3 separate regions of the Homo sapiens genome follow, and regions 2 and 3 are each linked to region 1. Evidence: promoter capture Hi-C in 16 types of primary human blood cells and fetal thymus (Javierre and others, 2016). All regions are on one chromosome and are shown on one strand. Each heading gives the region's core, a stretch centred on a gene start or on the middle of the fragment in contact. The rest is flanking DNA. Distances are from core to core; before and after follow the strand shown.

Region 1 (4,837 bases), core at 900-3,399:
GGCGGGGCCCGCTTCCCACTCCCTCCTCTTCACCATCTGCTCCACCCTCACACCTGGCCCCAAGCCGCAACCACCGCCTCCGCACCCGGGCCGGGGACTCTGCAGCCACTGGGTGGCGCGTGTGAGCGGCTCCCGCGCTGCTACTTCAGCCCCACGAGTCCCAGTTCCTACCTCCCTCCTGCCTCAGACCCGCAGCGTCCTCCGTTCTGGGGTCCCAGGGGTTTCTCAAAGCTGTGAGACCCAGAGACACAGCCAGTCAAGGCTGGAAGCGAGAGGCTGCGGCGGTCAGTGGCTTCCCGGCCACCCCGTCCTTGGCGCCCGCCCGACGCGCCGTCTGCTCCTCCCACCCCACCGCGGGCCGCATCATGAAAATTTAATACCAAATGCATTTGCGGCCCGACGCGGGGAGGTAGTGGGGAAAGGATCACCCTCCTGGGGCCTGGATCTGGAGGTGGACTCAGCGCCGGGAGATGGGCTGGTCTGAGGACAGGAGCGGGGCGGGACCCTGTCTGCGGGCCCAGGACAGGGAAGGGCCGGGCTCTACCCAACGGGGCGGCGCTGGAATTCCGGCGTGGAGACAGAGTTCGGTGGGCGGGGACAGATTCCGGGGGTGGGAGCAGGACTGGGAGGGCAGGGACAGATCCCAGAGGCGGAGGCGGTGGGCGGGGGACAGATCCCATGGGGCAGGGGCAAGACTGGGAGGGCGGGGACAGATCTCAGGGGCGGAGGCCAGAGCTCGGTGGGCGGGGTCAGATTCCGGGGGCGGAGGCAGGACTGGGAGGTCGAGGACAGATCCCAGTGGCGAGGGTCAGAAGTCGGAGGGCGGGGACAGATCCCATGGGGCCGGGGCAAGACTGGGAGGGTAGGGAGAGATCCAGGGGGCGGGGAGAACTGGGTGGGCGGGGACAGATCCCATGGGGCAGGGGTAGAACACAGAGGGCGGGGACAGATCCCAGGGACGGAGGCCAGAACTCGGTGGGTGGGGACAGATTCCAGGGGGCAGAGATAGATCCTGTGGGGAAGGGGTAGAACTCAGATGGCAGGAACAGATTCCAGGGGGCAAGGACAGAACTGAGAGGGCGGGAACAGAGCCAGGGACAGATCCTAGGAGAAGGGGACACAACTCCAACGGTGGGGAGAGAACTCAGAGGGCGGGGGCAGAACTCAGGTCAGCGACAGATCCTAGGGGAGGAGACAAATTCAGAGGGCGGGTGAGGATGCCAGGGGGTGCGGATCACAATTTAGGGGGCGGGACAGATCTCAGGGGGTGGAGACAGAACTCAAATAGAGGAATGGATCCCCCGGAGCTAGGGAAGAACTCAGAGCGCGGACAGATCCCAGAGGAGCAGAGAAATAACACAATGGGGAGACTATGGGGTCGCAGCTGGCACTGGCGGGGTGTGTGAAATATAACTGTGGGGGGCGGAAGCCAGAGGGAAGAAAATCGGGGTTAGGGAATGAAACTCAGGGAGAGAAGCAACAGGGAGGAGAGAGACGCCGGAGGGAGAATAGAGCTGGAGGAGTATGGGATTCAAAGGGGAAAGATGGAAACTAAGGAGGAGATGGAGCTCAAGGGTGAAGAACCCGGGTGGCGAAAGGGACTAGAGGGGGACGACAGGTGGATCGAAGTAGGCGTTGGACTTGAGGGGAAAGAATTTCCCTTGAATGAGAAAACAAAGAACTCCCTGGATGAGACTATTGGAACTGGGGACGAGGTGGGATGGGGATGGAATTGCGGGGTGGGGGCGGGGAGGAGTGAAGGAACTGGAGGATGAACGCAGAGGGAAAGTCAGAGAAGACAGGATTGTAAGGGACGCAATTAGGGGGAACAGAAGTCGGGGAGAGAAATGATGGGGATGAGAACTCAGGAGAGGAGAGAAAATCTGGGTAGGAGCCAGGGGTGATGGAACAGGGATAGGGGGAGTAGCCTGGGGAAGGAACAGAATTGGGGGGCGTGAACTCGGAGGCGTGAGTTCAGAACCCACAGGCGTGGTCTTGGAAGGCTCAGGAGGGGACAGGACGAGGATGAAAGGGCTGCGAGAGGGGGCGGGTCTGACAGACGAGGGGAGGGGCCTGGTGGGGCCGGGGCGGGGCCTCCCGCGCCCCGCCCCCGGCGCTGAGTCCTGTGACAGCCCCCGGGCCGCCTGCACTTGCAGCCTCCTTCCCCCCGAGCGGAGCTGCGGGGCCGGCCGGGCCGGGGCTGGACCCCGGGAACCCGGACGCGGCCGCCCGGGCCCGCGGGCGGGGGGATCGGCGGGGGGGACCCGCGGGGTGACCGGCGGCAGGAGCCGCCACCATGGAGTTCCGCCAGGAGGAGTTTCGGAAGCTAGCGGGTCGTGCTCTCGGGAAGCTGCACCGGTGAGCCTGGCGGGGGTCCCGGGAGAAGAGTGGGAGGATCTGAGGAGGATGCTAATTCCCACCTGGGCGCAGACTGACAGATGAACGGGCGATACCCCGGCATGGGGGTCCACCCATCTGTCCAGTTTTCTGCCGTGGGCTCCGACGGCGCTGTTCTCCCTGGTCGAGCCTTGTCCATTATCCTGTTCCTTTTTCTGCACCCCACCCCACCCGGCTCCACTCTCTCTGGTGCTGTAAATGCCTCTCTCCCGGGTCTCTGGCTCCTCCCCCACCACTTCTGGGTCTCTGTCCCCGTCTCTTTCTGGATGTCTCTGCCCCTTTTCTCTCTGGGTCTCCGTCTCCCTCTTTTTCCAGATCTCGGCTCCCTTCTCTCTGGGCCCCTCCTTCTCCCTAGATCTCTGCCTCCGCTTCTTTGCGTCTCTGTGCCCCTCTCTCTGGTTCTCTGGCCATTGCTCTCACTGGATCTCTATCAACTCCTGACTCAGAGTCTCTGTCCCCCTCTTTCTGGGTCTCTCCTCTTCCCTGGATCTCTGGTCCCCACTTCTCTGGGTCCCTGTCCCCGTCTCTGTGTTTTAATTCTCCCACCATGGGTCTCTCCGTCTCTCTGTGTCTTTTTCCGTTTCTGTCTGGCATGGAGTTTAATCTGCAGCTAAAGCGGATTGGGGCTCATAGCCCGTTGTCCTTGAGGGGGTGAGGCTGGGTGGAAGAAGTCACAGCACCCTGGGTCCCTGGGAGAGAAAGGAGTTAGAGGCCAAAAATTTCGGCTCCTGGGGTAGGACAGCCTTCCCAAAGGATACAGGCTGGGGCTGACAGGGACTCCCTCCCAACCAGGTTGATGACCCCAGTGAACCGAGTGTCCCTCAGGATAATCTGGACACCTCCCCACAGGCTCTCACCCCCAACCCCAGCTTTGGCTCTAAGTCAGATAAATTACTCAGCTGCGGAAAAGCCTAAAAATATATCTGGCCACAGTGCACGAAGGAGATGGCCTCATCAGCACCATGCCCCTGCCGCCGTGCCCTCAGGCCCTGTCCCCTTGGCCCACAGCCCTGACCCTGTGTTTCGCTGAGCTTCAGTCCACCTCGCTAGGCCATGGGGGTCCTTTGCTAAGTCTAACATCAGTCTTGCTTGCTGCAGATCACCTCTTAGCTCCAAAGTTACCCCACCCTCTAGTAACATGAGAGACAAGAATAAGGCTGGACAGAAGTGGGGGGAGGTGGGCAGGAGGATGGTGCAGTGACGGAGGTTGGTGGTGGAGGGGAAGCTGAGATAACCTCACCCCTTCTTTTTCCAATTTTCCAGCCCCTCCCCACCCTTTTTCTCGCCTCCTTTCACGAGTTTCTCAAAATACATCAGTGTGAAGTCAGGAGAATGAGAGAGAGAGAAAGAGACGTGCTGGTGGAGGGGGCTGGGGGGTGGCAGCGGGAGGGATGTATTCCTCAGGCCCCTCCCTCAGTCTCTGCCTCTGTTTCTCATCTGTGCTAGGGTTTCTCACAGTCAATCTCTCTGGCTCTCACTCTCTGAGTTACCTCTTGGGTCCCCAGAGACCCCCGGGCTCTGGCCAGGACCATCAGCAGGGAGTTTGTGCAGAGAAAAGCATTTGCTTCCAATGCCTGGGGTTTGCTCTGATGGTTGGAGGGAGAGGGGAATACCCCATATTAGAGACAACAGGTTGATCTCATTTAATCCTCTAGACAAAGATGGGGAAACTGAGGCTCCATTCTGGGGTTGGGGAGATCAGTGGATGAGTATGAGCCCCATGATTTGAACCCAGGTCAGTCTCCCTCCCAAGCCTAGAACAGAGCTCTTCCTTGAGAAGAGTGATGCCACAGCTGGTGGGGAGCTTCCTTGCACCCAGGGTGACTTGGAACAAGGACATGGGGGAATGGGATGCCAGAGAGATGAGAACCCAAGGTGCCTCCTTTCTGAGAGCCAGGTCTTGGGCAGGGGGATGCCGAGGGCCAGTAAGGGATCAGGTCCCATTGCTGTTCTTGTCTGTGACCTTGGAGTGCCACTTCAGCTCCCCGAGCCTCAGTTTCCTTAGTTGTACAATGGGAAGAGAAGAGAGAGCAGAGGGACATAAGGAGACAAAGACGTGGGGGAGTGGACAGAGATCCTGAGAGAAGCAGAGAGAGAGAGAGGGAGAGACAGAGAAGTTGAGACATCTCAATTTGGGGTAATGGCCTCCTAAGTGTTGTTTTTCCTCATCGCCAAGTCCCCAGGCCTGAGTTTGGGGTATCCAGGGAGGGGAGGGGGATTTACATCTAGGGTCTCCCTTCTCTGTCCTTGTCCCCTGCAAAGCATCAGGGCCACCTTCATCTCTGTGTCCTTGGTCCTCTTGCTCTAAAATGATTGATATCACCTTGAAGTTCCCTCTTTATTCTCTTGCATTTTTGCCCTTGTCCCATTTTATAGATGTGGGATACTGAGACCCCCTGTTTAGACAGCCTTGATTAGAGATCTGACATCTCCTCATATT
Region 2 (4,837 bases), core at 816-3,315, 360 kb after region 1:
TTGTAGGCTCAGGGTGCAATCTGCTGGCAGACCTGTCACTCTGGGATCTAGAGAGGAGGGGTCCCCTTCTCACAGCTCCACTAGGCAGCGCCCTGGTGGGGACTCTATGTTAGGCCTCCAACCCCACCTTTCCCCCTTGGCACTGTCCTAGTAGAGGCTCTCTGTAGGGACTCCAACCATGCAGCCGACTTCTGCCTGGACACCCAGGCTTTCCTACACATCCTCTGAAATCCAGGTGGGAGCTGCTAAGCTTCCTTCACTCTTGCATTCTGTGCACCTGCAGGCTTAATCCCACATGAAAGCTGCCAAAGTTTATGGCTTGCACCCTCTGGAGTGGTGGCCCAAGCTGTACTTGGGACCCTGTGTGTCATGGCTGGTGATCGAACAGCAGGGATGCAGGGGAGCAGTGTCCCCAGGCTGAGCAGGAGACAGGGCCCTGGATCTGGCCCAGTAAACCACTCTTTCCTTATATGCCTCAGAGCCTGTGATGGGGGAGGCTGTTTTGAAGACTCCTGAAATGCCTTCAAGGCCTTTTTCCCATTGTCTTGGATGTTAGCACTTGGCTTCCTTTTAGTCACGCAACCTCTCCAGCAAGGCAATACAGCCTGCTTCTATTTCTCTCCTAAAAAATGCTCTTCCCTTCTCTACCACATTGCCAGGTTGTGACTTTTCTAAACTTTTATGCTGTGCTTCCTATTTATTGATTGATTTTTCAGAGACAGGGTCTCACTGTGTCACTCAGGCTCATGTGCAGTGGCTATTCATAGGCATGATCCCACTCCTGATCAACATGGGAGTTTTGACCTGATCCATTTCCAGCCTAGGTCAGTTCAACCCCTGCTAGGCAACCTGGTAGTCTCCCACGCATGGGAGGTTACCATATTGAAGCCAAACTTAGTATGGACACCTAATCAGCATAACACACTACAGCCCAGAACTTCCTGGGCTCAAACAATCCTTCTGCCTCAGCCTCCAAGTAGCTGGGACTACAGGCATGTGCCACAGAGCCTGGCTGCCTCTCTTTATTTATTTATTTATTTAAGACAGAGTCTTGCTCTGCCACCCAGGCTGGAGTGCAGTGGCGCAATCTCGATTCACTGCAAGCTCCGCCTCCCAGGTTCATGTCATTCTCCTGCCACAGCCTCCTGGGTAGCTGGGACTACAGGCGCCTGCCACCACACTCGGCTAATTTTTTGTATTTTTAGTAGAGACGGGGCTTCACTGTGTTAGCCAAGATGGTCTTGATCTCCTGACCTCGTGATCCGCCTGTCTTGGCCTCCCAAAGTGCTGGGATTACAGGCGTGAGCCACCGCACCTGGTCCAGAACATCCCTTTTTAAGAATGAAAACTTGCCAGGCACGGTGGCTTACGCCTGTAATCCCAGCACTTTGGAAGGCCGAGGTGGGTGGATCACCTGAGATCAGGAGTTCAAGACCAGCCTGGCCAACACAGTGAAACCCTATCTCTACTAAAAATACAAAAATCAGCCAGGTGTGGTGGCACACACCTGTAATCCCAGCTGCTCAGGAGGCTGAGGCAGGAGAATCGCCAAGATCGCGCCATTGTACTCCAGCCTGGGCAACAAGAGCCAAACTACGTCAAAAACAACAACAACAACAAAAAGAAATAGAAGAAAAGAAAGAGAAAGAAAGATAGATTTAAATTATTCGGGTGTGGTGGCTCAGGTCTGTAGTCCCAGCTACTTGAGAGGCTGAAGTGGGAGGATCTGTTTGAGCCTGGGAGGTCAAGGCTGCAGTGAACTATGATTACAACACTGCACTCCAGCCTGGGCAACAGAGTGAGACCTTGTCTCAAGAAAAAAAATGTTAACATCACCAGTGATATGGCATATGGACATCATACACCCCCCAGTATGATATAATGAGAAGAGCAATGCCTCTCTGTGGCATTCTCTCTACCCCCACCCAACAAAAAGTATAACCTCAATCCAAGCAAGATAACAGATCAGAGGAACACAAATTGAGAGACAGTCTACAAAACAACTGACTAGTATTCTTCTAGTTTCCAGATCATGAAAGACAAGGAAAAAGTAACAAACTATCACAGATTGCAGAAGACTAAGGAGGTATGACAACCAAATGCAACATAGTAACCCCGACTGCAGCCTGGCGTGGGAAAAAGACATTAGTGGAAATATAGAAAACCTGAATGAACTCTTTCATTTTGTCAAAAGTATTGTGCCACCTCAATGTCTTGGTTTTGAGACAGAGTCTGGCTCTCTCACCCAGGCTGGAGTGCAGTGGTGCGATCTTGGCTCACTGCAACTTCCACCTCCCGGGTTCAAGCCATTCTCCTGCCTCAGCCTCCCGAGTAGCTGGGACTACAGGCACCCGCCACCACGCCCAGCTAATTTTTGTACTTTTAGTAGAGTCGGGGTTTCACCATGTTGGCCAGGCTGGTCTCAAACTCCTGACCTCAGGTGATCCGTCCCCTCTAGCCTCCCAAAGTGCTAGGACTACAGGCGCGAGGCACTGCTCCGGCCAATGTCTGAGCTTTAACAAACGTTGCCAAAGCAATGCAACATTCTAACATTTGGGGAACCTGGGTGATGGATATTTTTTAAATGTCTGTACAATCTTTGCAACTCTTCTGTAAGGCTACAAATAGTTCAAAGTGAAAATGAAACAAAACAGGCCCAACACAATAGCTCGCACTTGTAATCCCAGCGCTTTGGAAGGCTGATGTGGGAGGATTACCTCAGGTCAGGAGTTCGAGACCAGCCTGGCCAACATATTGAGACCAAAAATTAGCCCGGGCACGGTGGCTCATGCCTGTAATCCCAGAACTTTGGGAGGCCAAGCCAGGTGGATCACAAGGTCAGGAAATTGAGACCAGCCTGGATAACACAGTGAAACCCCATCTCTACTTAAAATACAAAAAAAATTTTAGCCGGGCGTGGTGGCACGCGTCTGTGGAGGTGGAAGTTGCAGTGAGCCAAGATTGGGCCACTGCACTCCAGACTGGGTGACAGAGTGAGACTCCATCTCAAAAAAAAAAAAAAAAAAAAAAAAAAAAGGCAGAGCAGGGCCAGTGGCTCACACATGTAATCCTAGCGCTTTGGGAGGCTGAGGCCAGAGGATTGTTTGAGCCCAGGAATTTAAGATCGGCCTGGACAACATAGTGAGACCTTATCTCTACCAAAAATTTTAAAGAAAATTAGCCGGGCATGGTGGCGCACACCTGTAATCTCAACTACTCAGGAGGCTGAAGCAGAAGACTTGCTTGAACCCAGGAGGCGGAGGTTGCAGTGAACCGAGATCGCACCACTGCACTCCAGCCTGGGCAACAGAGTGAGATTCTGTCTCAAAAAATAAATAAAATAGGCCGGGCGCGGTGGCTCACGCCTGTAATCCCAGCACTTTGGGAGGCCGAGGCGGGCGGATCACGAGGTCAGGAGATCGAGACCATCCCGGCTAAAACGGTGAAACCCCGTCTCTACTAAAAATACAAAAAAATTAGCCGGGCGTAGTGGCGGGCGCCTGTAGTCCCAGCTACTTGGGAGGCTGAGGCAGGAGAATGGCGTGAACCCGGGAGGCGGAGCTTGCAGTGAGCCGAGATCCCGCCACTGCACTCCAGCCTGGGCGACAGAGCGAGACTCCGTCTCAAAAATAAATAAATAAATAAAATAAAATAAAATAAAACAAATGCTACCATAACCTCAGAGAATGACTCTGAGGAATTGGAGAGTCTGACTGTATTATTTTCTTGTTGCCGCTACAACAACTTACCACGAACTTAGTGGCTTAAAACAACACAAGTTTATTAGAATGCAATTCTAGAGGTTAGACGTCGAAAACAGGGCTCTGTTTCCTCTGGAGGCTCTAGGGGAGAGTCTGTTTCCTTGCCTTTTCAAGCTTCGGGAAGCCGCCCCCATTCCTTGGCTCATGGCCGTTCCTCCGTCTTCAAACTTCAAAGCCAGCACCATGGCATCCTCTCTTCTCTGACCTCTATGTCCATCCTCACATCTTCCATGAATCAGACCTTCCTGCATCCCTCTTTTTTTTTGATTTTTTATTTGTGAGACAGAGTCTCACTCTGTTGCCCAGGCTGGAGTGCGGTGGCTCAATCTCAGTGCACTGCAGCCTCCACCTTCTGGGTTCAAGTGATTCTCCTGCCTCAGCCTCCCCAGTCGCTGGGATTACAGGCGCCCACCACCATGTCCAGCTAATTTTTGTTATTTTTAGTAGGGATGGGGTTTTGCCATGTTGGCCGGTCTGGTCTTGAACTCCTGGCCTCAGGTGATCCACCTGCCTCAGGCTCCCAAAGTGCTGGGATTACAGGAGTGAGCCACTGCACCCAGCCACGTCCCTCTTTTAAAGACCCTTATGATTAGTGGGCCTACCCAAATGATCCAAGATAATATCCCTAACTCATCAGCCTTAATTTTTTATCTTTTATTTTTTTGAGACAGGGTCTTGCTTTGTCACCCAGGCTGGAGTGCAGTGGTGTGATCATAGCTCACTGCAGCTTTGACTTCCTTGGCTCAAATGACCCTTCCACCTCAGCCTCCCAAGTAGCTGGATTACTGATGTGCATGACCACACCTGGCTTTTTGTTTTGTTTTGTTTTTGAGACAGAGTCTCACTCTGTTGCCCAGGCTGGAGTGCAGTGGTGCCATCTCAGGTCACTGCAACCTCCACCTCCCAGGTTCAAGTGATTCTCCTACCTCAGCCTCCAGAGTAGCTGGGATTACAGGCGCGAGCCACCCGGCCCAGCTTATTTTTGTATTTTTAGTAGAAATGGGGTTTCACCATGTTTACTAGGTTTGTCTTGAACTCCTGACCTCAGGCAATCCAGCCACCTCGGCCTCCCAAAG
Region 3 (4,837 bases), core at 1,142-3,641, 340 kb after region 1:
CAGTGCATGTCTCGCTCGTGTTCGTACTCGATGAAGGCATAGCCACGGGGCTTTCCTGACCGCTTACTGTAGACCATGTGTATCTGTGGGGCACATGGGGACAGGGGTGAGTCCTGCCACAGGGCGGCTCCGCCCCACCAACCCCACAACAGCCTGCACACCAGGCCCTGGGCCGGATGAGGCCTCAGACCCTCTCTGTCCTTCAAGAGCCCTGAGTGACTTATGTTCTAATGGCAGGAGCAGAGGACACAGAGGCGGCTTCCTGGAGAAAATGACACTTAAGCTAAGACCTAAAGAAAGAAGAGAGATGAAGGAAGACAGTGAGGTGTCAGCCTGTCAGGTGGAATAGCAGTAACTCCAGAGGTCCAAGGGCCCGGGGGCAGGAGGGCAGGAGGCTGGGGATGCGCTTCGGCAGGGCTGGCTCATGTACTGATGACAGAGAGTCCCAGGAGATGAAGCCACAAAGGTGGGCAGGCCCGGGGTCATCAAGCGCCCCAATGCCAGGCCGAGAAGTGTGGTCGCTGAGGAGCTGGGAAGGGTGTTGAGCAAGGAAGGGCCAATGTGGGTGGTCTACGTGGAGTCAGGAGGACACAAATGGAATTAGGGAAACAGGAGGGAGTTGTGAATGCCAATGGGACGGGAATTCTTTTTTTTTTTTTTTTTTTTGGAGACAGAGTCTTGCTCTGTTGCCCAGGCTAGAGTGCAATGGCTCAATCTCAGCTCACTGCAACCTGCACCTCCCGGGTTCAAGCGATTCTCCTGCCTCAGCCTCCCAAGTAGCTGGGATTACAGGCGTGCGCCACCACACCTGGGTAATTTTTTGTATCTTTAGTAGAGATGGGGTTTCACCATGTTGGCCAGGCTGGTCTTGAAATCCTGACCTCATGATCTGCCCTTCTCGGCCTCCCAAAGTGCTGGGATTACGGGCGTGAGCCACTGTGCCTGGCCAAGGACAGGGAAGTTCTAAGGGAAAAAGAAAGGACACGTGCACAGCCAGGGAGGCTTGAGAGAACGTGGCACGATGAGGGATGCGTCCCATCCCGAGGATGGCAGCAAGAGAAGGGAGGAGATGGGGTGGGGTGGAGGTCCATGAGGCCACACAGCTTGGGGAAGAGCCCTGGAAGGCCAGATGGTGGCAGCTGGACCTGTCCTAACATGCTAGGGACCCATGGGATGCTGTCAGCAGAGATGGGGTCAGCTCTGGATGTCAGAAAGACCCCTTGGGGACCATGTCAGGGAGAACAACGGGCAAGGCAGGGCTGTTGAGACAGAGGTGGCCAGAATGAACCAGGGAAGATTTCTGGGAGGTAACAGCATTTGAGCTGGTCCCTAAAGGATGGCTAGTTCGCCATTCACATCACTACCAGTTGGCGACCAACCTGTATCATGGATGAACCTGGGACCCCACAGCCTCCAAAACACAACCAAGATTCCTGACTTGAATGGATCAGAGGGACAAGGGTGGGGCCAAGGTTGTCACTGGGCTGTGCAAGGCAGAACAACGTGTGTGTGTGTGTGTACACATATATACACATGCACATACACACACACACACAGGCACGAGACACCACACTCGGCTAATCTTTTGTATTTTTGTAGAGACGGGGTTTCGCCATGTTGGCCAGGCTGGTCTTGCCTCCTGACCTCAGGTGATCTGCCTGCCTCGCCCTCCCAACATGTGGGATTACAGGCGTGAGCTACCACGCCCAGCCTACAATACTTTTTTTTTTTTTTAAGATGGAGTCCCACTCTGTTGCCCAGGCTGGAGTACAGTGGTGTGATCTCGGCTCACTGCAACCTCCGCCTCCTGGGTTCAAGCAATTCTCCTGCCTCAGCCTCCTCAGTAGCTGGGATTACGGGCGCCCGCTATCATGCCCAGCTAATTTTTGTATTTTTTTTTTTTTTGTACAGACCAGGTTTCACCATGTTGGTCAGACTGGTCTCGAACTCCTGACCTCAGGTTATCCGCCCACCTCGGCCTCCCAAAGTGCTGGGATTACAGGCGTGAGCCACCGTGCCTGGCCCAACAATACTTTTTTTTTCCTTTGTGTGGAGAACGGGGTCTTGCTATATTGCCCAGGCAGGTCTCGAACTCCTGGGTTTAAGCTATCCTCCCGCCTCTGCCTCCTTAAGAGCTGAGATTACAGGTGTGAGCCATTGCACCCGGCCTGACATGTATAAATATTTTTAAAAGACGTATCAGAAACAGAGCAGGGAGAAGAGACATGGCTAACATCAGTTTGTGTGTAGGATGGCCTCAAGCCCTCACTACTGCCCAGTGAAGGCATGCGTCTCCCATGTTAGATAAAGGAAATCAGACACAGAGCACTTCAGTGACTTAAAAGAAGATTGGTAAAACAAAGCCTTCCTCTAAAACGGGACTCAGCATAGGTATTCTGCCAAGACCCAGAGAGTAGATATTTCCAGCTTGGACGGCCGTATACTGTTGCAACAATCCAACCCTGCCTTACAACAGTAGCAGCCAAAGACAATGTGTAAACAAACAGACCTGCCTGGCTGAGCAGCAGGAAAACTTTAAGTCTGTAGTTTGCCAACCCCTGCTCTCAACCAACCACCAGCAGTCATTACTTCTCATTTTACTTCTGCTGCCCAAGGTCTGCTGCATGGAGATACAGTCAGGATGCATAAATCCAGGCCCTGAAATGGTGTGAGCCATGCTCAGGGCTGGGACCTCTCTCCCTCCCTCTCAGGATACAGCCCCTCCTCCATGCACCCCCAATTCAAACACCCTGACCCACTCCACTTACTCTTTTGATAGGTCCGTACACCTCAAACTCTCTCCGGAGCTTGGATTCTGTTGTGTCATAATTCTACAAGGAGATGGATATGACGTTAAATGGGAGAACAGAGCTGTCCCACAGCCCCTGGAACATTCCCCTGTACCTAGCCTATTTGACCTTTGTGCCAGACCCAGGCTCTCAGCAGCGTGGGGTTCCAGGAGCTAGGAGCTGGGGACTTACCACTCTCGCCACGAAGAGAGTCTTGAAGGCATCCCCCTGAGCATTGGGATCATTGTGAGGGTCCCCTGTGCAGGAAGAAAGGAATTTTATAAGTTGAAGGTGTCCATGGTCTCAGGTAGCAAAACAAATACGATGGGCAGAGGCCAAGAAGAAAACGGTGGCATTGGGAGAGGCCCCTAACTGGAGGAACATGGGTGGTGACCTGGCAACCTCAGGGACGCCCCTCTCTGAACCTGTTTCTCTGAGGCACAGTGGGCTTTATCAGAGTGGCTGAGAGATAATCCAGGCTGCTGAGGAGAGGAGGTAAGGCTGACTTCAAGCTGACAGGATGTGGGCAGGCCCAACTGCCATTTCAGACCTACATAAACCCTAAGGGCCCTATCGCTCCCAGATGCAAGGTGATCCAAACAGTAATAGCCCAACTGGGCCTCCCTGGAGATGCAGCTGATGCCCCCAGGTTCTGAGCTCCCTCCTGTAGGCAGGGCCACACTGCCACCTACTGGACACAGACTGCAACTACAGCCCACAGGAAAACCTGAGACCAAGCTGCCCCAAGGCTAAGAATGAGAGCCAGGAAAGCAAACACTAAGTAAGCTCTGCTTTCCTGTCTGTGCCCTGTGTCTCTAAAAAGGAACCCAGGAACTGACTAGCGTCAGATCAGATTCTCACTCCAGCCTCACTACTGTGAGGCAAACTGTTCTACCTGGCTACTAAGGAATAACAATCTCCAAAGAAAAGAGCCAGGAATCTCCTAAGAAACCAATTTCATAGGTGATCCTGCTGGGTCAGGCCTGGGAATAAGTCCTTTTCACCAAATATGGTGGCTCCAGCACATAATGACCCTGACTCCTGCCGGGGCCTTAAGGACACTCTGCCGGTTCTTCCATGGTATAGTGTTTCCCTCGGAAGCCCTGTCACATTCTGGGAGAGCATGAGAAAAGGAATAACATTAACCCATTTATGCCAGAGGTTGCAATTTTTTGAATTGCAGACACGTGTGAAAAATCAGACCCTGGTGATGACCCGAGCAGTAGGATATAAATAACTCCCACATGCTTAGCGTTCCAATAATGGAACATTAGACATATAATTTACTGAACACGTACTATGGCCCAGACACAGTGCTGGACACTGATATTTATTTATTACTATTTTGCAAATGGAAGTAAAACAGAACAAACTCGAGACACAGAAAAAGGGAGGTGTTAAAGTGGCGAAGGGCCAAGGCAGACTTCACCTCTCACCCCGGGCACTTGAACTACCAGGCTCCTTCCCCGAACCCTCGGGTGCTACCTTTTCAGGAAGACAGTGTGGGTGTTGCCAGAAGCTAGAGAAATAAAGTCTCAGATTTTTTTTTTTTTTAAACAGAGTCTTGCTCTGTTGCCCAGGCTTAAAGTGCAATGGCGCAATCTCGTCTCACTGCAACCTCTGCCTCCGAGGTTCAAGCAATTCTCCTGCCTCAGCTTCTCAAGCAGCTGGGATTACAGGCGTGCACCACCACATCCAGCTAATTTTTGTATTGTTAGTAGAGATGGGGTTTCGCCATGTTGGCCAGGCTGGTCTCGAACTCCTGACCTCAGGTGATCCGCCCTCCTCGGCCTCCCAAAGTGCTGGGATTACAGGCATGAACCACCGCGTCCCGCCAGATTTGTTTCTTATGAGAGAATTTAACTACAAGTATAAACTAAGGTCAAGATGACTTTAAGGAATGTACTTTTTTTGAGATGGAGTGTCACTCTTGTTGCCCAAGGTCAGTGCAATGGATGGCGAGATCTCGGCTTACTGCAACCTCCGCCTCCCGGGTTCAAGCGATTCTCCTGCCTCAGCCTCCCAAGTAGCTGGGATTACAAACACAC

The links. Contacts are between HindIII fragments. The CHiCAGO score rates a contact against its expected background, and 5 or more counts as called.
Region 2: a fragment that was not itself captured here is called in contact with the fragment with the promoter of SLC17A7 in region 1 in 1 of 17 cell types (naive B cells); the score reaches 5.4 in naive B cells.
Region 3: a contact is called between a fragment that was not itself captured here and the fragment with the promoter of SLC17A7 in region 1, in 1 of 17 cell types (naive B cells). The highest score is 7.2, in naive B cells.

Annotation. Positions count from the first base shown.
Region 1 is chr19:49,438,839-49,443,675 of GRCh38, reverse strand. SLC17A7 (solute carrier family 17 member 7) reads left to right here and starts at 2,149. Exons shown (of 12, transcript NM_020309.4): 1 at 2,149-2,358. The coding sequence starts at 2,297. The HindIII fragment of the contact is 19,375 bases long and covers 1-4,837 here.
Region 2 is chr19:49,077,508-49,082,344 of GRCh38, reverse strand. It overlaps the pseudogene RN7SL708P. Among named protein-coding and RNA genes, the nearest start is that of SNRNP70, 5.5 kb to the left of the region's middle. The HindIII fragment of the contact is 3,625 bases long and covers 253-3,877 here.
Region 3 is chr19:49,096,636-49,101,472 of GRCh38, reverse strand. It overlaps SNRNP70 (small nuclear ribonucleoprotein U1 subunit 70), which reads right to left. Exons shown (of 10, transcript NM_003089.6): 5 at 2,982-3,046; 6 at 2,769-2,831; 7 at 2-83. Among named protein-coding and RNA genes, the nearest start is that of SNRNP70, 14 kb to the right of the region's middle. RefSeq lists enhancers at 1-701, 702-1,557. The HindIII fragment of the contact is 8,758 bases long and covers 1-4,837 here.